Linked DNA regions of Homo sapiens: all the other regions are linked to region 1. The links are contacts of gene promoters, found by promoter capture Hi-C in blood cells and fetal thymus (Javierre and others, 2016). All regions are on one chromosome and are shown on one strand. The core of a region is centred on a gene start or on the middle of the fragment in contact, and the rest is flanking DNA. Distances in the headings are between cores, read along the strand shown.

The links. The method cuts DNA at HindIII sites, captures the fragments that hold promoters and counts their contacts. A CHiCAGO score of 5 or more calls a contact.
Region 2: a fragment that was not itself captured here is called in contact with the fragment with the promoter of RPRM in region 1 in 1 of 17 cell types (M1 macrophages); the score reaches 5.6 in M1 macrophages.
Region 3: a contact is called between a fragment that was not itself captured here and the fragment with the promoter of RPRM in region 1, in 8 of 17 cell types (endothelial precursors, M2 macrophages, M1 macrophages and 5 more). The highest score is 10.8, in endothelial precursors.
Region 4: a fragment that was not itself captured here is called in contact with the fragment with the promoter of RPRM in region 1 in 3 of 17 cell types (endothelial precursors, M2 macrophages and M1 macrophages); the score reaches 6.6 in endothelial precursors.
Region 5: a contact is called between a fragment that was not itself captured here and the fragment with the promoter of RPRM in region 1, in 1 of 17 cell types (M2 macrophages). The highest score is 6.0, in M2 macrophages.
Region 6: a fragment that was not itself captured here is called in contact with the fragment with the promoter of RPRM in region 1 in 2 of 17 cell types (M2 macrophages and M0 macrophages); the score reaches 8.0 in M2 macrophages.
Region 7: a fragment that was not itself captured here is called in contact with the fragment with the promoter of RPRM in region 1 in 5 of 17 cell types (M2 macrophages, endothelial precursors, M1 macrophages and 2 more); the score reaches 19.9 in M2 macrophages.

The regions. Positions count from the first base shown.
Region 1 is chr2:153,476,386-153,480,615 of GRCh38, forward strand. It overlaps RPRM (reprimo, TP53 dependent G2 arrest mediator homolog), which reads right to left and starts at 2,377. Exons shown (of 1, transcript NM_019845.3): 1 at 953-2,377. The coding sequence starts at 2,180. The coding sequence ends at 1,851. It also overlaps a transcript of GALNT13 not described here. RefSeq lists enhancers at 544-1,047, 1,048-1,551, 1,552-2,055 and a silencer at 2,412-2,611. The HindIII fragment of the contact is 6,762 bases long and covers 1-4,230 here.
Region 2 is chr2:152,724,264-152,728,493 of GRCh38, forward strand. The region is part of intron 2 of ARL6IP6 (ARF like GTPase 6 interacting protein 6); the gene reads left to right. Among named protein-coding and RNA genes, the nearest start is that of ARL6IP6, 7.8 kb to the left of the region's middle. The HindIII fragment of the contact is 1,260 bases long and covers 1,747-3,006 here.
Region 3 is chr2:152,744,204-152,748,433 of GRCh38, forward strand. The region is part of intron 3 of ARL6IP6 (ARF like GTPase 6 interacting protein 6); the gene reads left to right. Among named protein-coding and RNA genes, the nearest start is that of ARL6IP6, 28 kb to the left of the region's middle. The HindIII fragment of the contact is 4,628 bases long and covers 1-4,230 here.
Region 4 is chr2:152,762,123-152,766,352 of GRCh38, forward strand. It overlaps ARL6IP6 (ARF like GTPase 6 interacting protein 6), which reads left to right. Exons shown (of 4, transcript NM_152522.7): 4 at 1-274. Among named protein-coding and RNA genes, the nearest start is that of ARL6IP6, 46 kb to the left of the region's middle. The HindIII fragment of the contact is 381 bases long and covers 1,939-2,319 here.
Region 5 is chr2:152,779,074-152,783,303 of GRCh38, forward strand. No RefSeq gene overlaps it. Among named protein-coding and RNA genes, the nearest start is that of ARL6IP6, 63 kb to the left of the region's middle. The HindIII fragment of the contact is 2,128 bases long and covers 892-3,019 here.
Region 6 is chr2:152,842,025-152,846,254 of GRCh38, forward strand. No RefSeq gene overlaps it. Among named protein-coding and RNA genes, the nearest start is that of ARL6IP6, 130 kb to the left of the region's middle. The HindIII fragment of the contact is 774 bases long and covers 2,007-2,780 here.
Region 7 is chr2:152,858,717-152,862,946 of GRCh38, forward strand. No RefSeq gene overlaps it. Among named protein-coding and RNA genes, the nearest start is that of ARL6IP6, 140 kb to the left of the region's middle. The HindIII fragment of the contact is 4,271 bases long and covers 1-4,102 here.

The DNA.
Region 1 (4,230 bases), core at 1,127-3,626:
GCATCCTAGTGGATTCTTTATAGTCTTGAAAATATTTAGGATCCTGTCTCAGGCATAAAAATAAACTGCTCAAAACCTTTTGTCAAGTTTATGCTCGAAGCTATTGTATCCTTTGGGTTATTTTCACAGGCACGGTTTTTAGGCGTTTCTTTCTAACACTGTTGAATTTCTGAACCTTAAATGTGTCAACGGCCATCTGTAGTTCTACTCCAAATATCCTTCCCAGTTGGGGTTGTAATACTCATCTCCCACATTCAGGACCTCGGCTAACTCCTCTCAACCCTTTGCCTGGTCTGGGGCATACTAAATTACAAAGAACAGGCTGAATCTTTTAACGTGGTCTTTTTGCTAGAAAAAGTAATATCACAACGACAGTAATGCATCTCATGTTTTAGTAACAATGGTTTACCCTAGGGAGCATTAACGTCACTAACGTCACTGTGTACCTTAGCAGCTACTTTTCCTCGCATTTTATAATTCCCCTTCCCTCCGCCCCCCGGCCCCACCCGTGGGCAGCATCCCAAAGCCGCCTGGCTGACGTTGGTTAGGGTAGAGACGCCCTCCCTAAAGGCTGTCCAAGCCGTCTCTTCCTTTCATTAGCGGTGTAATCCTGTGTTCCCGCCGGAGCCTGGCACGGAAGTGTAATCTTCCCGCGGGGGCCCTTCTGTCGTCTCGCCTACCTGAGAGCTGAGACTAAATGAAATATAAAATATTCACGATAAGAGGAAACAAAGGATGCTGCCTCCAGGACGGCTACTGTGCCTGAGGCTGGGCTCCTTCTCAGTCATCCCAGGGCCTCTCCGTCTGGCCCCACCCTCGCCCCTCCAGGGGATCCACAAGTTGAATCGCAGCTCTCCAGGGTTAATTGCCCTGGCCGGGAGCCAGACTCCTCACCGCCGCCCCGTTCCCCCCTGCTGGGGAGCGCAGAATGACCACCAGGAGGCCAGGAACAAAACGCTTAAATGTTGCATTTATTAAGGAAATGTTAAATAAGAAAAAAACAAAAAGTCAAAACGGTGTCACGGATGTCAAGAGCACTTTTGTGGCGTAAACCGTGCAGTCACGAGCTACGAGTTCTATTCTGGGTCTTTGTCCCAGGGCCAGCAGGAACGCTAGACGCCTCCCAAAAGACCCAGTGGGAAATGCACTAAAAGAAACAACTCACCCCGTTCAAATTCGCAGGCTCCCCCTCCCCCCACCCCTTCTCCCACAATGACAAAACTGTAACTCCTCAGGCAGGCAAACAGGCCACTGGGGCAGAAAAAGACTTATCAAACATTTGTATTCAAGCAAACAAACACAAAACCTCTTAAAACGGCACGTTACAATCAAAGGTATTTATCGCCCCTCCCCTCCAGGGCAGGGGGGGAGCAGGAGAAGAGTGGGAGCGCACCCGGACACGGATTTGTGAGACCCCATGAGTCTGCTGCGTGGCTTTTAACAGGTCACTCTTCCGGTCACAAGGCGATCAGTGCCGCTGGGTCTCTCCCCTGCCCGCCCTCTCCACCTGCCCCCAGAGCTTGGCCCACCTGCGGGTGGAGAAGGGCCTTCGCACCGTCGGTCTCCCCGCATTCCAAGTAAGTAGCAGCTTCCAAAGTTCTGCGCCCTAATCGCCCTCTTCTTGCCACTTTCTGCTGAGTTCAGAGTCTGGGCGCTCTCCTCCGACTGCCAGGCATGAGGACTTTCAGAGGGCGAGGGAGAAACCGGTCGCTTCTTTCCGAAAGGCCGAAGTCGAGAGAAATAATTGACTCCGACAGGTTTGCTTCGCCCAGTCTCTGATAGTGAGGGGCACAGCCGGGCTAGCAAAGTGGGCAGGCGTGGGAGCGGTTGCCGCGGGGGCAGAGGGCGGGTCAGTAGGGCCCCACGACCACCGCCTCCACCTCCTTAGACGGCCTCCGGTCCTTCACGAGGAAGTTGATCATGCCCTCGGACTTGATGAGCAGATTGCAGCCGAGGAAGAAGATGCCGAAGACCACGGTGAGTGAGAGCACGCACATGACCGCGATCTGCACCACGCGCATTATGTACAGGCTACGCTCGTCCGGGCCTCCCTCCGCGAAGCCGTCGTCGGTCACCACGGACGCCTGGGTGCAGCAGCGCACGGCTCGCTCCAGCGCCTCGCTGCTGTTGGCCAGGAACAGGCCCGCCACGTCCGTCTGGTTGCCTAGGGCCGGATTCATCGCAGGAACGGGCGGGCGCCGCGAGCGGCGCGGGTCCGAGGGGTGGGAAGGCGGCGGCGCTGGAGGAACAGGTGCCGGGCTGAGCGCTCACTCGCAGACTAGCGCGTGCGAGGGCTCCTCGCTCTGCTTTCGAAAGTCCCTGGGCCGTGGGAGTTTCCCAGGAGCCTCTCCGACGCGCGCAGCAGCTAGGCTCTTCTAAAGCCGTCCGCTCCAGCCCTGGTGGTGCTCGTTCCCGGCGCTCGCTCGAGGGGGGGCTGTTGGAACTTGGCGGGGCTGGACCAGCCCGGCCGTGGGAGGTGCGGGCCGCGGCGGCTGCAGCGGCGGGGTGGCTGCGCTGAGCAAACAGCGGCCCCTTCCGGCCGCACCGCCGCGCTGCGCGCTGCTCTTGGGAGGTGGAGGAAGCAAAGGGGCGAACCTGGTCTTGCTTTTTATTGCTTGCTTCTTTTGCAAACTCCAAAGGCCAGGCAGAGGTCACTGTACTCTTCTAGCTTGATGGATGATTAAAGAGTTTGTCGGGGGAGGGTGCGGTCAGCTGAAAGTTTCAGAGGAACTGGGACACACGAGCTCTGCGTGTCCTTTGCCTGCTGCCCCCCTGACCTCTGGGCGAATGGAAAGTGGCGATGAATCGCAGGTGCCAGATGGTGCCGGCTGAGGCCACCCGCCCACTGCCTGTGCTTGACTCCGACTCGCCTGCGTTGGATTTCTAGTGGAGTGGAGGTGATCTGAGAATGTTTCTTACAAAGCAATGAATTTGGAAAGACAGAAAGGCATGGAAGAAGGAAGGAAGAAAGGAAGGAAGGAAAGAAAAAAGGAAGGGAGGGAGAAAGAAGAGCTCTACACCCAGCTTCCTTTACAAAAGCGATTGGGAGACAGAGCAAGGCAGGTTTTACCGTGAGGTTTGAGGCCAAGGAAAGAGGGTTAGAGGAAGGAGGAGTTCTTCTGTGGCCCTTGGGTGGAGGTAGTTGCCGGGAGCAGGGTCACCTCTCTGGTAAAGGAGGTGAACAGAGTGACCACTTGCTTGTAATTTTAATTGCAGATAAGTTTTTGGATGTGCTTCCAGCATTTTGTCCGTTGGCAGTAAATCAGTTGTTGAAGGGAATTGCTCATCAACATCCATCACCTAGAACGCTGGCCAAATACTGGGAGCCCTCCCCATTTTCCATAAGCTGATGTATTTCACCCTTAGTCATTTAAACTAAACACAGATGTTTTTATAGGCCTGATTGACGCTTCAGCCATTGTGATTTTGCTCTAGGTTCCAACGAAATTCTATAAACCTGTCAGATTAAGTTTCTTAACTCTGAAAGAATATTGCATGTTCCCGCTCCCCCTTTTCTGTTTTCTTTCCCCTCCCTCCTTTTCCCCATTACTCCCTGCCTTCCTCCCTCTTTCTTTCAGCTGTAACAGCTGGAAACCAGTAACTTGAGCTTCCAATAGAATACATTTACTTTCTATTAAATGTTCTCACCACAAAGAACTGATAAAAATTTGAGATAATGGGTACGCTAATTACTCTGATTTGATCATTCCACATGTATATGTGTATCAAAATATCACTTTGTACCTCATAAATATGTACAGTTGTCAATTAAAAATAAAATAAAACTGAAAAATAGTAGCTGTCTTGCCATTTTCAACTCTACTCTTAATTTCATTCTGTTTGCTTGGTAAATCCTCTTATTTCTGTTTCTTAAAACATCATTTATTCCATCTTCAGAGTGTTCCTTAAATGTTTTTGCACTGCTTCATGACTATCATAAAATAGAATGAAATGCCTTCTGGTTGAGTTTTCAATTTTTTGATATTTATGGTATATCAGCTGCAATAAGTTTGATTTTTTAAAATAGCTATTATTATTTTGAGGGGGATGTTTAACAGCTGAAAATTCAGGCTTGGGCTTCTACCACAATTCACTGGCTTATTGTTCTAGTTTCCCATAATTTAATTAGAATTGAAAAATACCTCACTCTCGGCAATTTCTTCTTTGAAGAAATTTATTAATAATTGATAAGTAAGAATTTACTTAAATCTCATCATACAATCAGTCTAT
Region 2 (4,230 bases), core at 1,127-3,626, 750 kb before region 1:
GAAAGCACAAATTTAAGTTTAGAGAATAATGTTTCAGTAATTAACAATAACACCATTTATTGCACTTTTACAATATGCCAAAAGCCATTAATTTGTGTGTTATTTCCTCTAGTATTCTCAACTACACTGTATCCATCAATGTTATTTTCTTCTAAACCAAAACTCAAGAAAGTATGTATTATAATTTTTATACCATAGATAGTCTAGGTAGTATAGCAAGGCAGAAAAAGAATGGGTTATCAGCAAGAATTAGCCATGTGCAGCTAAATTATTAGTCATGAAATTATTACAGGACTCTTCTTAACACATAAAAGCAGTAATAAGAACCAGACATTAGGACCCCTAAATCTCAATAAATTGAGTTGACATTGTGTGGTACTCTGTAGTCCAACTTTGGTGGTTGGGAGGGACGTTTCTTAGGCTAATGAAGTCAAAAGTTAGCTGGCATCAGAATCACCTGAAAGATAAATTTTGCTGCTCTTCACATGGTGCAGAATATCTGACTCAGTAGTGTGAGATGGAGCCCAAGAATTTTCATTTTTGACAAGTTTTGAGTTGATGCTCTGCATGCTGCTAGTTAGGGGGCTATATATACTTTGAACACCACTGGCCTAGTAGTTCCCAAACCTGACATAAAAAAAAAAGCAAAAAAACGAAGACCCTGGAGATTTTCTTTTTTTGCTTTTACGGAATCTTAGACCCTATAATTATCTACTGAATCGAAGTAACTTAATTGGCTGTATGTGTCAGTGTACACTGTACAATCAGGGCTCATTGGACCATTTTTCATTTCTGAATTATTTCGAGCAGTTCTGTTTGTAAGGATTGAAATTTCATGACTTATTCTTTCTTAGGGATCTTCAAAAGAATAAAGAAAACTGAGCTATATTTCTCATAAAGTTTATTTGATCTTGAAATTACCACATTGGTCTATTGGACATTTTTTAATTTTGAAATACGTTTTGGGATTTTAGTGGTCACATATTGTTCTTTCTCAAAACATTCTCCTATTTCATTATTTTAGTATTACTCATCAATTCTCAACTATGGTCGAAAGAATAAAATAATTATGATGGAATTAGGATTCCAGTAAGACTTTCCTAAGACTTTAAGTATTTTTTTCATCTTTTATGAGGTCTGCATCCTAATTTATTTGATACTGTTTGTAAGTGGACAGATGCTAAGGGCAGATGTGTATACAAAGGTGATTTGGAAAAAAAAATGCAAAAAAGAATTATTGGGTTGACCATTTGAATTGTTTGTAATCTAAAAATGAAAATATGTTACAAATTATGGAGCAAAGAAGATTGTTGTCCTCTTTTCGTCAAAATAAGCCATGAAAGGCTTAAAAATTCCTTCAAACATTGTGTTTTAATGACGCAAGTGCAAAAAAAAAAAGCAGGAATAATGACAAGCTGTAACCAATTTGAGATGTATCTGAAATCTGGAAGTGGTATTTACAAGATGGATATGTTGTAGATTCATACATGAAGTTAGTAAGCAATTATTTGCACTCAGGTCGTGCCCATTTTTGGTGTACATGACTTTAGGGAAACTGGGAATTGAAATTCGGATTTGCTGTATTTATTTCTTATGAAAATTTTTAACAAAGTTTTTTTCCTGCTGTCTTTTTGCTCTCTAAATTATTCTTCAAGTGTCATGAAAATAAAGGAAATAAAAAAGCCTCTTTGGACTTATATGATAAAAATATTGATGACTGTTTTCCCTGTTATACTGAAGATTACAAGCTTCAGAGGAGAATATAAATTTAACAGGATTGCCCATGAATTAATTGTTTAAAGCTGGATGATGGGTATATGAGTTTTATATACTTCTCTCAACTTTTTCCTGTGTTTGAAATGATCTGTAATAAAAGTGTTGGGTTTTTTTTTTAATTTTCCCATGTGAATCTAATGATTTACCAATGTTGGGAACTACAGGTGTTATTTATTTTTGAAATTTCAGTCACTTAATCTGTCAGAGGATCACCTTCCTCATCTGTTTCAACAGAAAGATGTAGAAATGCTACAGTCTGGGTTGCAGGTGGTCGGGCGATTGGGTGAAGGCCTTAACCAGTGTAACTGCTATAGCTACCATGCACTCTGCACCCACTATGCTCATGTTGCATTGGCAGGAGAGGAGAGAGCACTTTCCTCTGCTCCTGCACTTGGCTTTGACGTGTAAAGAGACACTTTGCTCTAGGGATTTAAAGACTTGAGCTATCTATAGAATGTGATTTAGAGAGGATACCAAATTATTTAAAATAATGGTCATCCTCTCAAGTTAGAAAACTATAGAATCTAATAAAGTTGAGAACATTTGCTTACATAAACATTTAAAAATTGATGGTTAGTTTCATGCATATGATACATCTAAGTTTTATTAGTAGCCAGCTGGTAATAGTTTTTACAACTTTTAAAGTTAGCTAAGTACAGCCATACACCACATACCATTTTGGTCAACAGTGGTCTGCATATATGCCTGTATGATGGTGGTCCCATAAGATTACAGTGGAGCTGAAAAATTCCTATTTAGTGGCATTGCAACTGTCCTAACTTGGTAGTACAATATATTGCTCACATGTTGGTGTTGATGCTGGTATAAACCAACCTATTACCAATCTAGTTTTATATAACCTTCCAGTCATAAAAAAAAATACAGCACAATTACGTGCAGTACATAACATAATTCTTGATAAACAATTATGTTACTGGTTTATGTATTTACTATGCTTCTTATTGTTTTAGATTATATTACTTCTGCTTAAAAAAAGTTGACTGTAAAACAGCCTCAGGCAGGTCCTTCAGGAGGTATCCCAGAAGAAGGCATTGTTGTCATAGGAGATGACAGTTTCATGCATGTTGTTGCCCTTGAAGACCTTTCAGTGGAAAAAGATGTGACAGTGAAAAACAGTGATATTACCTTGACCCTATGTAGGCCTAGGCTAATGTGTGTGTGTCTTAGATTTCAACAAAGAAGTTTAAAAACTAAAAAATTAGAAATAGAAGCTTATAGAGTAATGGTATAAAGAAAAAACATTTTTGCACAGCTGTACAGTGTCCTTTTGTTTTAAACTGTTAGTAGAAAAGGGTAAAGTTAAATTTTAAAATTTATAAAGTAAGAAAGTTACAGTAAGCTAAGGTTAATTTATTAATGAAGAGAAAAATTTTTTAATTTAGCGTAACCTAAGTGTACAGTGTTTATAATAGTCTATTGTAGTGGACAGTAGTGTCCTTGGCCTTCACCTTCACTCATCAGTCACTCGCTCACTGATTGACCCAGAGCAACTCTTTGTCCTGTAAGCTCCATTCATTGTAAGTACCCTATACAGGTGTACCATATTTTATCTTTTACACTGTATTTTTACTGTACCTTTTCTATATTTAAGTATGTTCAGATACACAAGTACTTATTGTTGTATTACAGTCGCGTGCAGTATTTGGTATAGTAACATGCCGCACAGGTCTGTAGCATTGGAATAATAGGATATAACTGTATAGCTCATAGGTGTGTAGTAGGCTATATACCTAGGTTTTTGTAAGTACGCTCTTGTGATGTACAAACAACAACGAAATCACCTAATGATGCATTTCTCAGAACATATCCCTGTCATCAGTGTATGATTGTATTGTATTTTCATTGTTAGTATCATAAAATGCATTAGTTACGTAAGTAATTTAATCTCACCAGGAAAGATTCCAACAATTAAAGCAAAGGCTTTCACCGATCTACCTGTGTGTCTTTTTACATCTTTTTCTCTTTGTTTACATATGTATAGTCATTTAAAATACATGTTTTTTTCACTGTTATAGGAAAAATATAATTGGAATCATGTATATTTTGCAGCCTTGTTAAAGTGCCTTTTGGAGTATATTCTGTATTAGTATACATAGGTCTACCTCATTTTTTCATGACTGCATTGTATTTCATAATATAAGTATACCAGTTTATTTAAACATTTCAAATGTCAGAATCTCTTACCCAGGACTTGGAAATTACTAGTATACAGTCACGTTTAATCCCATTGTTTACTTATGAAGTTTTATGAAGTGTGTGCAATTGATTGCCTAACACTTATTTAATAGGAAACCTTTCCCTAGTATAGGAACCATGAGAGTTTTGTTTTTTTCTGGTGTATTCTGATTATATATAATATGTGTAAATTGGTGCCTCTGTGTCTGACTTCATAAAACTTCTTGAAAGTTGCCTCATCCCCGTAAGCTAAAACTG
Region 3 (4,230 bases), core at 700-3,199, 730 kb before region 1:
CTCACAGATAGTCATTTTGAATTACCAGAAGTCAAACAAAATTATTATATTTTTATCATAACTAGACTCAGTTTTAAGCTACAGTATTCTTCAGGTGTCCTTTGAATAATTACATTTGTGCATTTCCTAGGCAGATTGGAAGACACAGTTGAATGTCTATTTTATAGAAGTCAGCATGAATTTACTCTTACATTTTTAGAGAAATTTGAAGTTTGGTATCTTCTCTTTAGATATATTATTGGTTGTATTTATGGCTTATTTGATATAGGGTTCATGGCCAAAATGCAGGGAAACTTCAGTTATTAGTGTTATATCATGATTTCTAGGCATATGCCAAGGTAAAGAGTGGTGTCTTTTTTTCACAAATGCCTGCTAAAATATAATCTATGAGATTAGATTGGGAATTTGCATTATTTCACAGTTAATATACAAATCAGCGGGTATCTGCTACCTTCCTCATGCTATCAATCTTTATTGTCTGATCACTATGAATTATCCATCTTTCCATTTCTTCTTCTTCCAACCACAAATAACATTTGATAAATATCCAGACACTCAATTTTAGAAAACATGCTTTTAATTTAATTTTTATTTAATGTAACATTATTTATATGCATCCTTGTTTAAAAAAATTGTATTGCCTTACAATGCAATCTGGAATCTGCAAAATAAATTGTAAGTGAGAAAGAAAAGGGAACAAGTTAATTTTAGTTTGAATTAATTTTTGGTAAATTGTTTTTAGTAACTATTTTAGAGAGTAACATGATCTATTACTCTTTTACATGTGTTACTTCCTATGTAAAGCGTTCTGTATGTAATTAGATGCTAACATTTGTGTGTGAGAGTGTGTTGTTAACTGTAGTAGGGAGCAGCAGATAGTAAAATACTTTGACATGTGAATTTCCTGGAACATTCAGGATTCAGTATTGGCATCCTGTATTATAATGTTACTTTTCTATTCAACATTAGTTTGGGTCTTTAAAATATTGTTATTAGGGTTTTTCTCTGACGTCTTCACATTGAGGGTTAGGAAGATAGAGAACAAATAAAACAGTTGAATCATAATATGCAATTCAAGAAAAGGGAACAAGTTGATTTTTGTTTGAATTGCTTGAAATTTGAAATTTCCAGCAGCACTCAGTTTTCTTTAATACAGTTAGCCTATCCTCATAACTAAATACAAGCACTGATTTTCCCTCCTTGGAAATAAGTATATGTGGACATCTTTAGCATAAAATAATATACGAGTGTTACAGGTTCTTAACTTGGGCATATATATAAGCCTTGGAGGTCAAAAACAGTGGGTTAGTTAGTATTCAAATTAGAAATTTCTTTTCCATGCAGACTAGATTTAACATTGAGCACAGTGAATTGACTCTACTACTCTTTGATACAGATTTTGGAGAGCTGCCTCTTTGTCGAATCAGATTCTTTATTGCCATGAACTAATGAAACAGATGTCAGATGGCTAATTGCAGTAGGAGAGAAAAGCTACTGACAAAAGAGATGGTTCAGGAACTTGGCCTTGATATTTGAGTATCATGAAATCTCATTATCTGGGGACTATTCAGAGCCATCAATTACAGTGCTGTCACTATTAATGAATATATTGATGGCATTGCACCGCGGCTTCTTGAAGTAAAGGGTTAAAGTACATGCATATTGTGTAAGATATATTTCATTACTGTTCTGAATGGAGATATGCATAGATATAACAAAATCCTCTAGGAAATTGTATTAACTATTGGTTTTATTGTTTCCATAAAGTGATACAGCTAATGAGTGCTTGCTTTGTACCTTTTTTTTTTTTTTTTTTTTTTTTTTTTTTTTTAAAGACAGGTTCTCACTTTGTTGCCCAGGCTAGATAGCAGTGGCATGATCTTGGGTGACTGCAACCTTTGCCTTCTGGGCTGAAGCGATCCTCCCACCTCAGACTGCTGAGTAGCTGGGACCACAGACATGCGCCACCACATCTGGCTAATCTGGCTAATTTTTGTATTTTTTATAGAGACGGGGTTTTGCCATGTTGCCCTAGCTGGTCTCGAACTCCTGGGTTCAAGTGATCCACCTGCCTCGGCCTCCCAAAGTGCTGGGATTACAGGCATGAGCCACCTTGCCCAGCTGCTCTTGCTTGTGCTATTTACAGTGTTATATATGAGTAGCTGAAGAGGGACAAGTGTCCATATGCCCAGAGCAATACTGACAAGAAATACTTGAGAGACAGTGCTTGCCAATTTTGTACTTGGAACCCTTTTTGTTTGTTTAACAACCTATAAATTACCAGAGGCAGCCTGATATAATTAAAAAGGGTCTTGAAGTCAGGAGAGGTAGCTTCCAAATCCAACCTACCCTAGCAGAAGGACATTTGAGCAAGTCAGTTAGTATATCCAAGCTATAACTTCCTCATCTCTAAAATGGAGTAAAAATAATGGTACCCTCATAGGCAGTAAGTGTAAGTTTACTAAAGCAACAGATACGTCAGATGATAAAGCAGACATAGTGTCAGAGGTTTTCTTTTCTTAAGGTTTTTTGAGCTGGAAGTCTGACCATGGCCTGCCACAAGTTGCCAGTTATCTTTTCTTGGATAATTGTTATTTATCCTGAGATTTTATCCTTTCTTTTTTTTTTTTTTTTTTTTTTTTGAGGTCTTGCTTTGTTGCCCCAGGCCGAAGTGCAGAGTGGCACAATCATGGCTCACTGCAGCCTCAACTGCCTGGGCTCAAACAACCCTCCTGCCTCCGCCTCCCAAATTGCTGGGACTACAGGCGAGTGCTGCTATGCCTGGCTAAATTTTTTATTTTTATTTTGTAGAGATAGGGTCTCACTAAGTTGCCCAGGACAGTCTTGAACTCCTGAGCTCAAGCAATCCTCCTGGCCTAGTCTCCCAAGGCACTGGGATTACAGGCGTGAGCCACCACGCCCAGCCAACAACTAATTGTTAATATTATCTCATTTAGTTTTAATAAGAACACTAATGAAAGGAATTATTATCCTCATTTTAAAGATTGAGAATTAGATTTTCTGGTAGGTTAAAATAGTTCTGTGACTAGTACAGCCATGACTAAACTCCAGTGAGGAGAGAGCTAGCTTTCCAGGTCTTTCATTCTGATCATATTAAACAATTGAGCTTCCTATTCTCTCCATTGTCTCTTGCTTCTGCGCATACTGTTAGGTGTTTAGAACACTAAATCCCTCATACTCAATTTTAGTTCAGGTATTAGCTCTTCTTTGGAATTTTTTCTCCCCTTCTACAAGCTGAATGGCTCCTTTATGTTCCAGTAATACTGCCTGCAAAACAATCTACTACGTCACAAGATTCTGTTATCTTCGAAGGCAGTACTGACTCCTTACTCATTTCTCTCTCTTTTTTTTTTTCCTTTTTTTGTTGGTTTGAGATAGTCTCACTCTGTCACCCAGGCTGGAGTGCAGTGGCATGATCTTGGCTCACTGCAACCTCCACCCGCTGGGTTCAAGCAATTCTCCTGCCTCAGCCTCCAGAGGAGCTAGGATTACAGGCCACCACACCCAACTAAGTTTTTGTATTTTTAGTAGAGATGGGGTTTCACCATGTTGGCCAGGCTGGTCTCAAACTCCTGGCTTCAAGTGATCCACCCGCCTTGGCCTCCCAAAGTGCTAGGATTGCAGGCGTGAGCCACCATGCCTGGCCAAAATTTTTTTTGTAGAAACAATGTCTCCCTATATGCTCAGGCTGGTCTGGAATCCCTGACCTCAAGCCATCCTCCTGCCTCAGCCTTCCAAAGTGTTGGGATTACTGGCATGAGTCACCGCATCCAGCCCTACTAATTTCTCTATCTCCTGTATGTAATTTAATACCTGATACCGAGTATTCTGTAAATCTTGGTGAATGAAAAGGGAATTGAGAAAGTTATAAAGAACTTTAGAGTAAAAAGTAAGAGGCAAAGTCATGTGTGTTATTTTTTCCTTAAGGAGAGACATAGCAAAGAAGTGAAATTAGGGAAGCATTCTCTTTAAAATTCTAACCCTGATTTCTTAAATAACAATGGTCAAGTTCATTGAAATCAACTTTGTCTGCTCTTCAGCAATTTCTAACAAGTAATTTTTAGGACAAAAGGATATAATAAAGTTAATGTAGTTTTACGTTTCTAAAAAGGAAATGCTTTTTAAGTTAATAAAATACGGTGTTGCTTGTTTTTTTGTTTTGTTTTGTTTTCCAAGTTTCAGGTTTAGTGTTAAGATCTTTTGATTCCA
Region 4 (4,230 bases), core at 879-3,378, 710 kb before region 1:
TTGCCTGGCTACAATGAGTAGAATAGAGAAATGACTTCAGTGAAGTATGTCTCTTCCCAGGATTTTTCAGCTTGAAATTAAGATGTGACGAAGCTGGGAAAATGCAAGCCCAGGAAATGCTGGCAGCTGTAGTTCAGCCAGGCTCAGTGGGAAAGAATAAGGCTGATAACGGATATTGCTAATGGCGTTACCCTGGTCCCTGAAGCCCAGTGGCAATCCTGCCATTCTTGATACGTGAGTCAATAAATTTCTGTCTTTTGGCCTTTGCAGTTTACATTGGCTTTTGTCATTTGCAACAAAACAAGTCAAAATGAGCTTATCTAGCAGCTGGAATCCATCTCTATTGTGAAACTGACTCAGATGATCTCATCTCCTTATGTGTAGCTTACAGCATTCTATTTAGTTACTTGTGAAAGATAAACGGGGTGTAAGTATTCCTGTGGCTAGTGATTAGTCTCAGGGACTTGAAAAGACATTTTAGAATAAATTAAACTATTATTAATCTTGCTGTTTCATCAAGAAATTATGTCCCCAAATTCAGTTCCACCTTAAGTGTTATCAGAAAGAATATTACTGTAGTTATCAAGATATGATTCTTTAGTTAATACAACGTAATGAGTTTGAACTACAACTGTTACTTAATATCTTAGCATTTCCCGGTTTCCTTACCTGTCGAATGGGAAGAATAATACTTAACAAAATACTTAAACTACAGTGAAAATACTACATGTCAGAATTTGTAGGACCTAGATAAAACACTGTGTAAGGGTAATTTATAACTTCAAATACATTTATCAGGACGAAAGTACTATTGAAAGCTAAAGAGCTAAGAATGCAGATAAAAAGCACAAGCAGCAGAGTAACATCCCCGCCCCCACCACACACACAAGAAAGATTGGAAATAGGAAAGATAAGGATACAATCAATGGAGACTCACACCAAAGAAGTGGGGACAATATCCAATACCAAAAGTCGTTTCCTGGAAAAGATATGATTGACAGACTTCTGGTAAGTCAGATTTAAAAAGAGATTTTCTATATTTGTCTATTTTCCTATTTCTGCCCATGCTCTTGGTTATGTCAGCTGCCAGAAACCATCTGTATTAGGGTTCTGTAGATGGACAGAACTAATAGGATATATGTATACATGAAAGGGAGTTTATTAAGAAGAATTGATTCACACGACCACAAGGTGAAGTCCCACAATAGGCTGTATGCAAGTTGAGCAAGGAAGCCAGTAGTGGCTCAGTCCGAGTCCCAAAACCTCAAAGGAAGGGAAGCCAACAGTGCAGCCTGCAGTCTATGGCCAATGGCCTGAGAACCACTGGTGTAAGTCCAAGAGTCCAAAAGCCGAAGAACTTGGAGTCTGATGTTCGAGGGCAGGAAGCATCCAGCACAGGAGAAAGATGAAGGCCAGAAGACTCACCAAGTCCACTGCTCCCACCACCTGCCTGCTTTATTATTGCCTCTCTGGCAGTTGAGGGGATGGTGCTCACCCACATTGTGGGTGGGTCTGCCTCTCCCGGTCCACTGACTCAAATGTTAATCTACTTTGGCAACACCCTCACAGACAGACCCGGGAACAATACTTTGCATCATTCAATGAAGTGGACACTTAATATTAACTGTCACACCATCTGACTAAGGAAAAGGGAATCAGGACTGGTGGGGAGGAACCTAGAAAGTGCCAGAGAGTCAAGGAAAATGAAGCAAAGGGACTGTCTGATAGTGGGAATAGCCTGGTCAGGATAATGTATATAGATGGATCCTTGCAGAGAGTGCCCAGTTGGCCAAGATTAGACTGTGTGCCTACTCCTTTGGCTTCTCTAGTTGAAGGCAGCATCTGAAATTATTTTGGGATGGTTGAATGGATATCAAGCAACCACAAATACAAATAATCACTGTACACTCTGCTGGTCAGCTTCTCTTTTCACCCTTAAGCTTACAACAGTACTCATATGTAACAATGTAGCCATTGTATACTATATCCAATACCAAAGCCAGGACCTTCAGATTATGTCCCTTCTAGTTTTGCCACATTCTCTTATTGATATTCTACAAATTATACTAGTCATTTTAATACTTATTAAGACATTGCTTTTTTATGTGAACTAGAACAATATTTTTAAGAAGGACAAAAAGATGGGAAACTTGTTAAAATACACTTTATATATGAGAGCAAGAAAATACAGATCAAAGTTACTGTCATTTAAATTAAGCATTTGGTTATGACACCTTCCCTTCTATACACATGTATTCTATTTTATCTTTGCTTTGGCTACTACGTTGGCTAAGTTTCTTCCCTGATAATGGCGACCAAAGCTTTATTTCTGACACATTTCAGCTCTTAGTTCATCTTTTGCCACTGTATGTGGCAGTACGAGAACAAATATATTTTCCTTCTATATTCTTCCTTGCTTATTATGTGGCAGCATTTGTATTATAATGTTAAAACACACCAACTAATATAGTGACCCTCTTTTTTGCATGATTATTCATGGCATACAGAATCTAAAATTACCAGATGGCAGTTTGAACTTCCGGTTCTTCTGAACCAGTTTTCTTTTTGAACTTCCTTAAGTACTAAAACCTTTAAAACAGAGTTCAGACTCAGAAGAACAGAAAGCAAAAACTTTATTATTGGGTCACTGGGTGTAATAGAAACATCCGGCAGTGTCTTGGTTCTTGAACCCATGTAATATGGGCATGGGAGAAACCAGCAAAAATCAGTTCTTGGATAAAAACATACATTGCATCCAGAAAGATGCCATTTTAGTGTTAACTGTCAGCTAGCTTAATAACTAACTCTTGAATAGATTATTTCAGTGTTGAAGGTGCATTATAAGAGAGAAGTCAACAAAATAAGAATTGAGTGTGGCCAAGTGTGGTGGCTCACACCTGTAATCCCAGCACTTTGGGAGGCTGAGGTAGGCAGATCACTTGAGGCCAAGAGTTCAACAGCAGCCTGGGCAACATGGTGAAAGTCTGTCACTACTAAAGATACAAAAACCAGTTGTGGTGGTACATGCCTGTAACCCCAGCTACTAGGAAGGCTGAGACAGAATCACCTGAACCCAGGAGGCAGAGGGCAGTGAGCCGAGATCACACTACTGCACTCCAGACAGATTCTGTCTCAAAAAAAAAAAAAGAAAAAGAAAAAAGAATTGAGCAATTGAGCACGTTGTCTTACCTCCTCAGGGTAGTAAGTTCCTTGACCAGAGCAATGTGGTGGGAATCCATGATAATGTATAAATTATGCAGTAAATAGTAGGGCTGCCAGAGGCAAGGAAAGCAAATCTAAGACCATAATGTATCTACCAGTGGGGACAAAACTGCTAAGTGCTACCTCATCTAATGCAATTAATTGGCTATCAGGTAGCTGGCTCATCCCCCAAGATATGATGCCATAAAGAGAGAGAGGGAGAGAAGTTGGTGGGGTGGGAGTGGGGCAGCAGAGATAGAAAGGCAGCAGCAGCCAGGAAAGCCTCTGAAAGTGTGGGTCCATCTGACTACCCCACCATCCTAGCATTTTATGCTCCCATTAAGCATTGGCTTGACAGAGACTACCATCTACAGTATAGGTTATGCTGTCCACCTGATTATTTAGAGCCTCTTTCGCAATGAAGGCTTTGTTGTGAGCATTCACATAGCTCAGAAATATTCTCAATTCTGGGTCCATTTAAAGAGCTCCATCTATATATCTCTTCCCCACCTTTCTTAAGTTGGCACCAGTCCTTTGTCAAGTCCCTGGCAATCCAGCCAAACTACTAGTTCACTCTCCTTGAATATACATAATCCTTATTTCATACCATACTTCTTCTAGCCAAGGAGACAACAGTATGAACTGCTTGAAATTTATATTGAACTCCCTAGGAAAAATTTCTTTTTCACTGCACATTGCTACCACCTATGAATGGGGGTTTATGCCCCCCACCACCTCATTTTTGGCTGGTAGTAACATATTACACAGAATCATCTATAAATTGGGCTTGAGTTTCAACATCAGTCAATTATCTATACCAAACCCTCGTGAGGCCAGGCTGCGGACTGAATGAAGAGAGGCTGCATGACAGTAGGAAGCAGGATGGGAATCTGATCATACAACTTACTCAGGACTTGAGGAAAATGAAAGGATGCATCTATGTCAGTGGTTCTTAAGCAAGGGCAATTTTGCCTTCCAGGGGCAAAACATAGAAATTTAGCTAATTACTTAGCAATGTTTTGAGATGTT
Region 5 (4,230 bases), core at 706-3,205, 700 kb before region 1:
AATTGGCTTTGCCATTCTGGGGCTGTTCAAAACTATGGGCAAGTTCAAATCTATAGGGCATGCTGTCAGGAGGGGCAAGCTGGAAACTCCTGGGCAGCAGCTGATGCAGTAGAATTTCTTCTTGCTCAGGGAAATCTCACTTCTATCTTTCAACTGATTGGATCAGGCCCACCCAGATTATCAAAGATAATCTCCTTTACTGGCAGTCAACTGATTTGTAGATGTTAATCACGTCTGCAAAATATCTTCACAGCAACACCTAGATTAGTGTTTGAATAATTGGGACTACAGCCTAGGCAAGTTGATATATAACACTGACATCACAGTCCACCCTTCATCAACTTGGTACCCATCCACATCTCCTTAAACCATACTTAACTTCAAAATAAAGACAACACTTCTTTAAATTCTGTTAGGTGGAAGGTTATACTTCTGTTAGGTTAACCTATACTTCTGGAAGGTTAGCCTTCTGTTAGGTGGAAGTATAACCACCATAGTTTATACTTCCACCTAACGGAAGTATAGGTTATATTTCTACCTAACAGAAGTATAGGTTATATTTCTACCTTACAGGATCTCATGTATCCTATCCTATGTGTAACGTTTTTCAGCTTTATTGAGATATAACTGACAAATAAAAATTACATATAGTCAAGGTATACAACATGATGGCTTGATTTACATATACATTGTTGTAATGTTTACCACAATCAAATTAATCAAGACATCTATCACCACACATAGTTATCCTATTTGTGTGTATTGGGGAGCAGGGTTGAGGATGCTTAAATTCTACTCTTTCTGCAAATTTCAATAAATAATACTGTATTATTAACTGTAGTCATCATGCTGTATCTTAGGTCCCCAGAACTCATTCTTCTTATAACACAAAGCTTACATACTTTGACCAATATCTTCCCATTTCCTCCAGTCCCTGTTCCACATCCTGCTTCTATGAGATGGTGGACTTTTTTAGATTCCATATATAAGTGAGATCATACAGCACTTTTTGTGTGTGGCTTATTTCACTTAGCATAATGTCCTCCAGTTTCATCCACGTTGCTGCAAATGGCAGGATTTTCTTCTTTTTGTGGCTGAATAATATTCCATCACACACACACACACACACACACACACACACACACACATCATTTTCTTTATTCATTCATCCATTGATGGACACTGTATTAGTTTGTTCTCACACTGCTATAAGGAAATACCCAAGACTGGGTAATTTACAAATGAAGAAGGTTTAATTGACTCACAGTTCCACATGGCTGGGGAGGCCTCAGGAAAATTACAATCATGGAGAAAGGGGAAGCAGGCATCTTCATCACAAAGCAGTAGAAGAGAATGTGAGTGCATGTAGGAGGAACTGTCAAACAGTTATAAAACCATCAGATCTCATGGGAACTCACTATCACAAGAACAGCATGAGAGAAACCACCTCCATGATCCAATCACCTTCCACCAGGTCCCTCCCTCCACATGTGAGGATTATGGGGATTACAATCGGGTATGAGATTTGGGTGGGGACACAGAGCCAAACCATATCAGACACCTAGGTTGTTTTCATATCTTGGCTATTGTGAATAATTCTGCAGTGAACATAGGGGTACAGATATCTCTTTGAGATACTTATTTCATTTCCTTTGGATATGTACTCAGAAGTGGGATTGCTGGATTGTACAGTAGTTTTATTTTTAATTTTTAATGGCATCTCCATACTGTTGTGGGTGATGTTCACTCTCCTTCTTGATATCTGTAGCTTAAATACAGTGATGTAAAGTTCACTAGTATTAATGCATGTTGTATTAGATGATGGGGGTTATGAGGGAATGTTTGCTTTATGTATACACAATCAATTACATTCATAACAAAATAAGCAAGAAATACTTGTAACTATTACAGTTCTCATTTCAGCAAGTGGTCACATGGCTGTAGCTGATATATAACTACCTTTTTCTCTACCCGTTTTATATTCTCTTTGCCCTCAGCAAACACCTCAGGTGCTTCAGGATGATGGGGAAACATGGTGAGATCAGTGAATTCCAGGAGAATGGGCCCACTGCCACATTTCATTTGCTGTGAAATGAGTTCCTTAGTTAGAAGCAACGCTAGGTGGAACACCATGATGCTGCTAAGGCATTCTGTAAGTTCATGGACGGTAGTTTTGGCAAAGGCATTGTGTGTAGAGATGGCAAATTTGTATTCAAGGTAAGTATCTGTTCCAGTAAGAACAATTCCCTTCAATGATGGAAGCAGTCCAATGTAATCAATCTGCCACCAGGCAGCTGGCGGATCCCTCCAGGGAATGGTGCCATACTGGGGACTCAGTGTTGTTCTCTGCTGCTGTAGTTGGATACTCAGCAGTGGCTGCAGCCAGGTCAGCCTTGGTGAGTGGAAGTCCATGCTGCTGAGCCCTGTATAATCTCCATCCCTGACAGGATGGCCATTTTGTTCATGAGCCCACTGGACAATGACAGTAGTGGCTAGGGAAAGAAGCTGGCTGGTAGCCATAAAATGGGTCTTAATAGGCTCTGGATTATTAAAATTCTCCTCTGGACCCTCCCAGTGTGAATGAGCGGGTCTTACTTGATAAATCCACTCTGACATCCCAATCCCCTTAAGCCTTTTGATATCTTCCTCTACAATATACCAAGGCAGTTCTGGCATTTCAATTTATTTAGCATAGGACATCTTTTGGTCCATGTTTCAGTCAACCAAACTGTCAGAGCCCTTTCTAACCCCTCAAGCAAACTTGCTGAGTCCAGAATCTCTGCTTGTGAGCCCATATCAATAATTTCAGCCTGCCTTCCTCTTTTTCCTTCTTTCCTTCTTTCTTCCCTTTCTTTTTTATTATAAAGTATTTTGAACAATGAAAAATAAACAGAATAATATAAATTCTCACCATCCAGATTTTTTAAAAAGGATTAACTCAGAGGACTTGTGGTGTTTAAACCCTGCACATTCCAAAGAAAGGCCAGGCCCTTAATTGATTCCTGGGAGATAACCTATAAGCTTGTGGAATATTCTGCCTGATAAAAGTATCTGTATACCAGGGGCTTTGGGCCATGTCAAATAGTTTATGCTAACAACGTGATTTATAGTAAATGCTAGTTTTTGTTCACCTGTGTTATGGCTATATCAGTTTGACTTCCGGGGAGGCAGGCTAGAGACTGAATAGTTAAGGTTGATCATGTGGTTGTTCTGTGCCTATGTGAGTGCCCCTAGGCACCAAGGCTTGGAAGAGTTCCCTTTGTCAACAAAGGGAACTCTGTTACACACAGGTGCTGGGAGAGTTAAGCATTTTCTGTATGACTCCACTGGAAGAGGCCAACTGGAAGCATGTGTCTGGTCTCTCCCAGACTTTGCCCTATAAATTTATTGTTTGATGGTTTGATTAGGTGCCCTATTGCTGTGATATATCATAACCATGAGTATAACAGCTTTTGTGAACCCTCATGAATCATTGAACCTCAGGGTAGCTTTATGGATTCCCAACACAGATGTTAACATTTGCCATATGTTATGCTTCCGATCTTTTTTTGTTTAAAGAAATATATTGGCCAGGTACGGTGGCTCACACCTGTAATCCCAGCACTTTGGGAGGCTGAGGTGGGTGGACCACCGAGGTCAGAAGTTTGAGATCAGCCTGGCCAACATGGCGAAACCCCGTCTCTACTAAAAATACAAAAATTAGCTGGGTGTGGTGGCGTGCACCTGTAATCCCAGCTACTTGGAAGGCTGAGGCAGGAGAATCACTTGAACCTGGGAGGTGGAGGTTGCAGTGAGCTATCACGCCACTGCACTCCAGCCTGGGTGACAGTGAGACTCTGTCTCAGAAAAAAAAAAAAGAAATATATTACAGAAACAGTTTAAGACCGCAATATTTCTCCTCTTTATTTCATTCCCTTCCTCCTTATCCAGAAGTAGCCACAATTCTGAGGTTTGTGAGTGCTTTTGTTTCTGTTTCATATGTGTGTGTATATATAGTTATAAATACGAATGTAATTTTTTTTAGAGATGGGGTCTCACAGTGTTTGCCCAAGCTGGACTCAAACTCCTGGAGTCAAGGGATCCTCCCAGCCTAGCCTCTTGAGTAGCTGGGACTTCAGGCACAAACCACATGCCTGGCTGATTTTTACATTTTTAATTCATATGTGTGCATTTATAAATAATACATAGTATAATTTTTATTTTTTTGAGACACAGTCTTGCTGTGTTGCC
Region 6 (4,230 bases), core at 1,144-3,643, 630 kb before region 1:
TCTGATTGTCTTTGGTAGTATTTCCAGCATTAAAATGTTGAACGTAAGTGGCAAAAGTGAGCAATCTTGCATTGTACCAGATCTTAAAGAAATATCTTTCAGTTTTTCCCCTTTGATTAGCTGTGAGTTTTGGATAAATGGCCTTTATTTTGTTGAGGAAATTTCTTTCTATACCTACTTTGTTGAGAGTTTTTATCATGAAATTATGCTGAACTTCGCCAATGCTTTTTTTGCATCTATTCAGATGATCATGTGTCTCATTCACATGTCTCATTCAATTTGTCTCATTCATTTTGTTAATGTTGGGTATCACAGTAGTTGATTTGCATGTGTTAAATCAACCTTGCACCCTAGGGATAAATCTTACTTGATCAGGATATATAATCTTTTTGATGTGTTGTTGGCTTCAGTTTGCAAGCATTTTATTGAGGATTTTTGCGTCTATGTTCATCCAAGGTATTGTTCTGTAGTTTTCTTGTGGTGTCTTTGCCTGGCTTTGGTATTATTAGGGTGATGCTGGCCTCATACAATGAGTTTGGAAGCATTCTTTCTAATTCTATTTTTTGTAAGTGTTTAAGAGGGATTGGTATTCATTCTTTTTTGAATGTTTGGTAAAATTCAGCTGTGAAGCCATCTGGTCCTGGGATCTTCTTTTTTTGGAGGCTTTTAAATATGATTTCAATCACTTTATTTGTTATTGGTCTGTTCAGTCTTTCTATTTTATCTTGATTTAATTTTGGCAAGTTGTACGTTTCTAGGAATTTACCCATTTCCTCTAGGTTATCCAATTTGTTGGCATGTAGTTGTTCATAATAGTCCCTTATGATACTTTTTATTTCTGAAGTATTCATTGTAATGTCTCCACTTTTATTTTTTATTTTATTTACTTGAACCTTTTTTTTCTTAGTTTGTCTAGCTAAGGATTTGTCCATTTTGTGTATTAAAAATCTCAATTGTTAATTTTGCAGTATTTTTCTATAATTTTTGTATTCTATATTTCTGCTATGACCTTTATTACTTCCTTTCTTCTGTTAATTTTGGGTTTAGTTTGCTTTTCTTTTCCTAGTTCCTTGCAGTATAAAGTTAGATTGTTTATTTGAGATCTTTTTTTTTTTAATGTAGGCATTTACGGCTATAAACTTCCCTTTTGGAATTCCCTTTGCTACTTCCCAAAGGCTTTAATATGTTGTATCTCCTTTTTTGTTTGTTTCAGTAAGTTTAATGTCACTGTGCTGATATACAAAAGGGTGTTGCTGTTGGTATTTAATATTCTAGTAGCCTCTTAACATTTTTAATTCTTTATCTTTGAATTTGTGTTTTAGTAAGTGAAGTCTGCTGGGACAATAGAGCGTACCCCAGGGGCTTACAGTCTTAGCTCACAGACCCCACCTCTCCTGCCTCCTTACCTCCTCTGGAAGTTTCTTGTCTGCTAGCTCTCTACCACCTGGGGGCTCAGAGGCTGCCCTGCAATGCCTGCCACCCTCTCTCTATAGTGGTAACCTGGTTGTATGGGTTGGGGTGGGATAGGAAGCGGGAGCATGTTCTGCTGTTTCTTTTTACAACTAGCAGGGGCCTGGGTGAATGTGTTGGGTGTGCGGTGGTTGCACTTGGACTTGAGAGTCTCTGCCTTGGGTTAGCAGCATCATTGGCACTTTTGGTGGGCAATTTAGTGAGAGCCTTTCACCCACCCTTGATCTAGGTTGAGTGCCTCTTGACGTAGAGGTTGCAATCCCTTGAGTGTAGCCCATCCACCACCAGTTGGGGCAGTGGGTATATGGGAAAGAGGTACTGACTTCCATATTCCCAGGGCAGGCCTCAGATTTTCATTATGCACTGGGCCCTGCAAATTATTTAGCTGGCTCCAGTCAAGGAAACTGGATATTTTTATTCCAATTCTGGAGACTCATTTTGGAGGGTTGCTTGGTGGTGATGGTGATGTTGCTAATTCCCTGGTACTATGAACCTGTGAGGCATGGTGCTAATGGCCTTTCATAGGTTTGTTATAAAGCTTTCAGGCCCAGGGATTCAGACACTGGCAGCTAGAAATCTACAAGGGCACATGGAATATTCTGAAGGATATAGGGGAAGGGAAGTGCTGACAGTGTCTATGAGACACCTTATTTTATATAATAAACATAAATTATAGCTGCATCAAATACTTAAAATTTTTTTAAAAATAAAAATCTTAGATGAAAATTAGTGAAATCCAGATTGAAGAGGCCCTTTAAGCAAGACATGGAAGTGAAAAACCATAAAAGTAGACATGTATGATTACATTAGGAAATTAGAGGATAAAAATTTCATAAACAAAATTAGGACAAATGAGACACTGGGAAAAATATGCATTCTATAAAACAGACAAAGAATAAATATCAATGATGGGCAAAGAACTGTTATAAATAGAAAACAAATAGCAAACTCTCTTGGAAGTTTTTCTATTAAAGTTGTAGCTAGGTAACTCACAGAAGAGCAAATCCAGAATGAGTAATGAACATATGAAACAGTTTTTAAACGTTAGTACTAATAAGAAAAATGCAAATTAAATATTGAGTTCTCCTTTCTCAACCATCTATTGAATTGGCAAAAACTTAAAAAGATGGATAAACTTACTGCTGGCAGGGATGTGGGAAAGGGCACTGTCATGCACTGTTTCTGGACATGTGTGTTGTGTGTTGTTACAGCCTTTTTGGAAAATAATCTGGCAATATCCACAATAAGCAAATTAAACACACGATTTGACCCAGAAATCCTACTCCAAGAACTCTATTGTAGAGAAATCAAGCTTCAGTGTGTAAGGACGTGTATGTACATACCACCCCCAAGAATGTTTATTGTGGTATTTTTCTGGAAATAAGTTAATGCATATTAATATATTTTGCCAATTCGTAGGATGGAATGGTATGTAACCAATAAAAATAATGTATTAGTTCTATACAGATTTATACTAGTTTTGCTTTGAGAGAGTTCCATAATGCATTTTTTTCTATCTTAAACTTTTAAAAAAAATAGACACGGTGTCTCCGTCTGTTGCCCAGGCTGGTCTTGAACTCATGGACTCAAGCACTCCTCCTGCCTTCGCCTCCCAAAGTGCTGGGATTACAAGTGTGAACCACTGCACCCAGCATATAATGTATTTTTAAGCATGAAATGAAAGATGCCAGAAAGTACATATATATATTAATATCCTATTAAAAAGCCAAAAATTGAGGGAAAACCCTTATGTGTGTATTGAGTGTTCTGTGAACCTAGAAAAGCAATGAAAGATTACACTAGGTTGTTAACAATAGTTTCCTGGCTGGAGGAGAGGGAAGAAGTGGAATTTAGAGGTTGAAGTGATGAAAAACGAAGGACTAGGGGAGTTTTCCACACTAACAAAAACAACACATGTTGCAGAATTTCATTTATGTGAAACTTAATACATGTGTATGTACATACCTGTATAGACATGTATGAAGAGGTGCATTAAGGTTGGTTATAAAATATTAACTGTGGTTATCTGAAGGTGTTGAGATTTCAGGTGATTTTACTGTTTCTCTCATAGTATCTTAGCTAATGTCACATGGCTGGTAAGTGGCAGAGCCAGGATTCAATGTATTTGACCTCAAAGTCGTTCTACTTTTACATACAGTGTACCTCTTCCCATAGGACTACAGCAATGGTCAGTTACCAACACAGGGATATAAGCAGAAACTCATTAACCAGAATAGAGGCACAAACTGGGATGTGGATGGAGGAAGAAGGCAGTAGTCTAGTTATCAGAACTGAGACCCAAAAGTCTGTCTCTAAGAACTCAGTGTAGCTGAGTCCCTGCATGCAGGATAGAGTCACTTACCTATATCTGGCTGAAGGTCAAGCCTCTTTTAGGCAGTGGTTCTACTTCTACTCATGGCTACACCTAGGAATCCACGGGAAGAGTGAGAAAATACTGATGGCTGGGCACAGTGGCTAGTGCCTGGAATCCCAGCCCATTCAGGGCCCGAGGCAGGAGGATTGCCTGAGGTCAGAAGTTTGAGACCAGCCTGGGCAACATAGCGAGAACTTGTCTCTACAAAAGAGAAAAAAAATTAGCCAGGTGTGGTGGCGCACACCTGTAGTTCCAGCTACTTGGGAGGCTGAGGTGGGAGGATCACTTGAACCTGGGAGTTCAAGGTTATATGAGCTATGATTGTGCCACTCCACTCCAGCTTCAGTGACAAAGTGAGCTCTGTCTCTTAAAAAAAAAAAAAAAAG
Region 7 (4,230 bases), core at 717-3,216, 620 kb before region 1:
GCTGTTGTATGCCAGTTTGTCATCTCACAGCTTCCAGAATGTAAGAGCCACTTGTCCTAGGATACCATGACTTGTCTTTTGTGGATTGGGGTCCTATTCCTTTCAGTCACTGCCCTAGACAGTCAAGTCACATCCTGCTCATGGCAACATCGCCCTGCTGGTGCTGCATGACTGTGCCACACAAGAGCTGTGTTGGGCAGGCAGCTGTTGGCATTCGAATTGTGCCTGAAAAGGAGGTTCTCTGTCTTGGGGACAGAAATGAGTAAAGGAACACAAATGAAGGAGTGATGACAGTGCCATGGGAACACATTCTGCCCATTAATGTCAGTAAATTAATTGCCACTGGGGTGTCCCCAGCTGGGCACAGAGGCTGGCTGCCCCTGGGAATTGTGGAGAAGAGCTGATATCTGTGTGGAGGGAAAGGAGTGAGGGTGAGTAGCTTTTACCAGTTGATTTAGAGTAGTGGCTTTCAAACTTAAAAAAAAAACAAATGAAGACCCAGAGAAATGAATACATTTTACGTTGTTACCCAATACTGTATACACACACACTCTCTCTCTCTTTTTCTCACAGATTACATCCAAACATGCATATTTATGATGGAAGCAATGTTTCCCATTTCTTACTTAAAGAATACTTAACACTGTGGCTAGCCTAATGGGTTTTCTGAAAACTTACCAGTGTCAGCTCAGAGGTTCCTGGACATGCAAAGCTGCTATTAATACCTTCATACACAGCACAAAAAAAGAAAGAGTTCCGAGAAGACACAATGTTGTTTACAGGTAATTTAGCCTCTTTTTCTTTTAAAATATTTCTGCTATGAGATTTACTTGTTTGGACCTTGTGATTTATTCAGATCTTTTCTCAATTTAGTGGCAAGAGAACAGTCATAATATGTCAGATAATCAATTTATCTTTAAAGTCGTCACCTATATTATTTGACTTTAATAGAAAAAATGTACTTTCCTTTCTCTATTTAGCTTAGTACCCACTAACTAGATATTTAAAATCTAATCGTCTCCTTGAATGGAGAAAATTATGTTTTCTATGATATTTTATATCTGAGAGGATTCATTAATAGGGATTTAAGTCTCTTACTCCTAGGTAATACTGAACCTGGACTTAAACCTAAACAGAACCTGGCAGAAATCTGTACTGAATGTGTAAGCTCATCCCTTGAGATTTCAGTACCCCAGCATTTTTAGTGGCTGAAATAATGAAAATTCTCATTAGGCCCTTGCCTGCTTGCGCATGTTAACTGCTCACTTTTTGCCAAACATCCCTTGTTCCCACAATATAATTATAAATTGCCAGTGTACTGTTTCTTTGTCAAGCAGGAAGAGACAACTTCAGGGACACAAACAATTTTGGGAGGAGGATTGTATGCCTTTAAAGATGTTGCAACCAGCTGCTGACACCCAGAAGTCTGGTTGTATAAGGTGTTATCTGAGACTGAGGAAACACAGACTTTTCCTCTTAGTTCCCTGAAACTTCTTCCCCCTTTTCTCTAGCTGTATAAAAACTCTCTGTTTCATCTTTCTGTTAAGACAAATTTGAGGCTGGGCGTGGTGGCTCACACCTGTAATCCCAGCACTTTGGGAGGCCAAGGCAGTTGGATCACCTGAGGTCGGGAGTTCGAGACCAGCCTGACCAACATGGATAAACCCCATGTCTACTAAAAAAATACAAAAATTAGCTGGGCCTGGTAGCACATGCCTGTTATGCCGGCTACTCGGGAGGCTGAGGCAGGAGAACTACTTGAACCCAGGAGGCCGAGATTGCAGTGGGCCGAGATCGTGCCACTGCACTCCAGCCTGGGCAACAAGTGCAAAACTCCATCTCAACAACAACAACAACAACAACAAAAAACCCAGACAAATTTGAGAGTTCTTGCTCTCCTGCCTTCTTGCTTTGGCCAACTTGAACACATCTCTGCATCTCCAAGCACCAATATCTTAGTGTTCGGCTCCAGCTATGCACTGGGTACACAGTCGTGAATTTGGGGTTGTACAACATTTGCATACTGTACTCATTCAGTGGTCACTAGTAATTTGCCTCCCAGCTCAGTGTAGCTAACTAGATACGGAAAATGACTAACTGCAGTGTAATAGCATGATGTCTGTGGCATTACTAATGGTTGGAATACATTAGAAAGCCAACGTTTAGTTGCTGTAATTATTGTTATCAATTTTCTATTGTTTATTTGAAGAGTCCTGATCCAGGCTCAGAGGTGTGTTAGCTATAAAGTCATTAGAGTGCCTCTGGGGGCTACGACCTGGAGACGAACACTGTGAATAAAAACAAACGTGTTTCTGTGAAGTGTGGGAACGGAGAAGGAGGATAAATAGCAGCAGAACAAAGATCCCTTATTTCACCGTGGTGGAAAGAAAACTTTGCTAAGAGCCCCCCAAGGCAGGATCCTTGGGGCATGCCAGGCCTCATCTCAGGAATTTGTGCTACATTGAACCATTCTTCAGCCCTGCCCACATATAGATCTGCAGGAGAGTGTGGATGCCCTGAGAGGTTCAAGTTGCTCCTGAGTTGGCTGCTAATTATATGTCATAACCATTCAGAGGCACCTCTAAGATTTGGGGAAGAGGGAAGCTGAGGAAAGTTGAAGTTTTAGTTGATATTGCATATGGGATTCTGGGAACTTAGCTGGTGTTACAGGTTGGTTTTTCCCACGCAATGCTGAGATGGGATTTGGTGTGCAGGATACTTATCAAGGATTAACAACTGTGGAAGAAAAGAGGTAGGAAGCAGGATTGGGCGGATAAAGAAGTTGAAATGTGACACAGGCGCCACTAGCTATAGTCAACACCAGGGGGAGCTCCTGAGTACATTCTGTTGATCAGAATAAATTGTGATGCCCCTGTGTCAATAACGTCTCAATCAGCAACTGGTTGTTGGCTGTCTTTACAGGGTGTGTTCTCAGTAAGGTGACTCTGCAGCTGAGGAAAACCCTGAATGCTGACAGCTGGGGCAACAGGTCACCCCTAGAAGGGAGTCTGGGTGACACATCTCAACATCTAGCACAACTAGTAAGTGACAGAGCTGAAATTGAGCTTGGGTTCTACTCATTCCAAGGCTGACAATATTCCTTCTTTTCTTCAGTTAGCAAATATTTTTGAAGACTTTCTTAGTGCTAGGCATTGTTTTAGGTGTTAACGATTCAGTATTGAGTGGAAAAGAAAAACGGGAAAAAAATCACTATCCTTAGGGAATTACATTGTAGCAGTGTTGGGGGAGATAACACATAAATAAAGAAGTAAAATACACAGTATATTGGATGGTGGTAAGTTCTATGGGGAAAATAAAATAAAATACAAAAGGTGGAAAGGACTGTGTGAGTGTAGGAGGACAGGATAGAGGGTATTGTTATTGAAAACAGAATAGTCACAGCCTGAGCAACATAGTGAGACCCAGTCTCTACAAAAAGTGAAAAAATTAGCTGAGCATGATGGCTCCTGCCTGTAGTCCCAGCTACTCGAGAGGCTGAGGTGGGAGGATCACTTGAGCCTGGAGGTCAAGGCTGCAGTGAGCAATGATCGTACCATTGCACTCCAGCCTGGGCAACAGAGTGAGACCCTGTCTCAAAACAAACAAAACACAACAAAACCAAACAACCAGACTAGTCAGACAAATACTCACAAAGGAGAGGACATTTGAGCTAAGAGCCAAAGAGGAGAGGGAGCATATCTTATGCATGTGGAGGAATCATTCCAAGCTGAGAAAACAGCCAGTGCAAAAGCCTGAGGTTGGAGAACACCTCGTGTATGCTTGTCGTAGCATTCCTGTAAAAGATTTTGTGCATAGCACATCTAGCCTTGCGGAGAATACAGTATTTCCAAACTTCACTCATTTATGTACCATTGTGATAATTTTTGTAATATTCATGTACCATCCATACTATTATGTAATTAGATTTTAAGTAAAATGCCCTTTTCATATTTAAGTACATTTATTTTAGGAGACTTTGTGAAAATAAACAAAGACCACCCAAATGAGAAAACACAAAGGCTATTTATTCAGAGCTTATTACAGTAAAGGAGTCAGCCACTACCACTTGTGTTTGGCTCCAAGGCAGGCAGAGAAGTGGGAAAGCTTTATAGTAGAAAAAAGGGGAGACTTAGGTATGCTGTGATTGGAGGCTGTTGGAGTAGGGAAGCTGAAGGTAGGTTAACTAGAAGCGGAGCATCCTGTATGATTGGTTAGGGGTGCATATTTGGC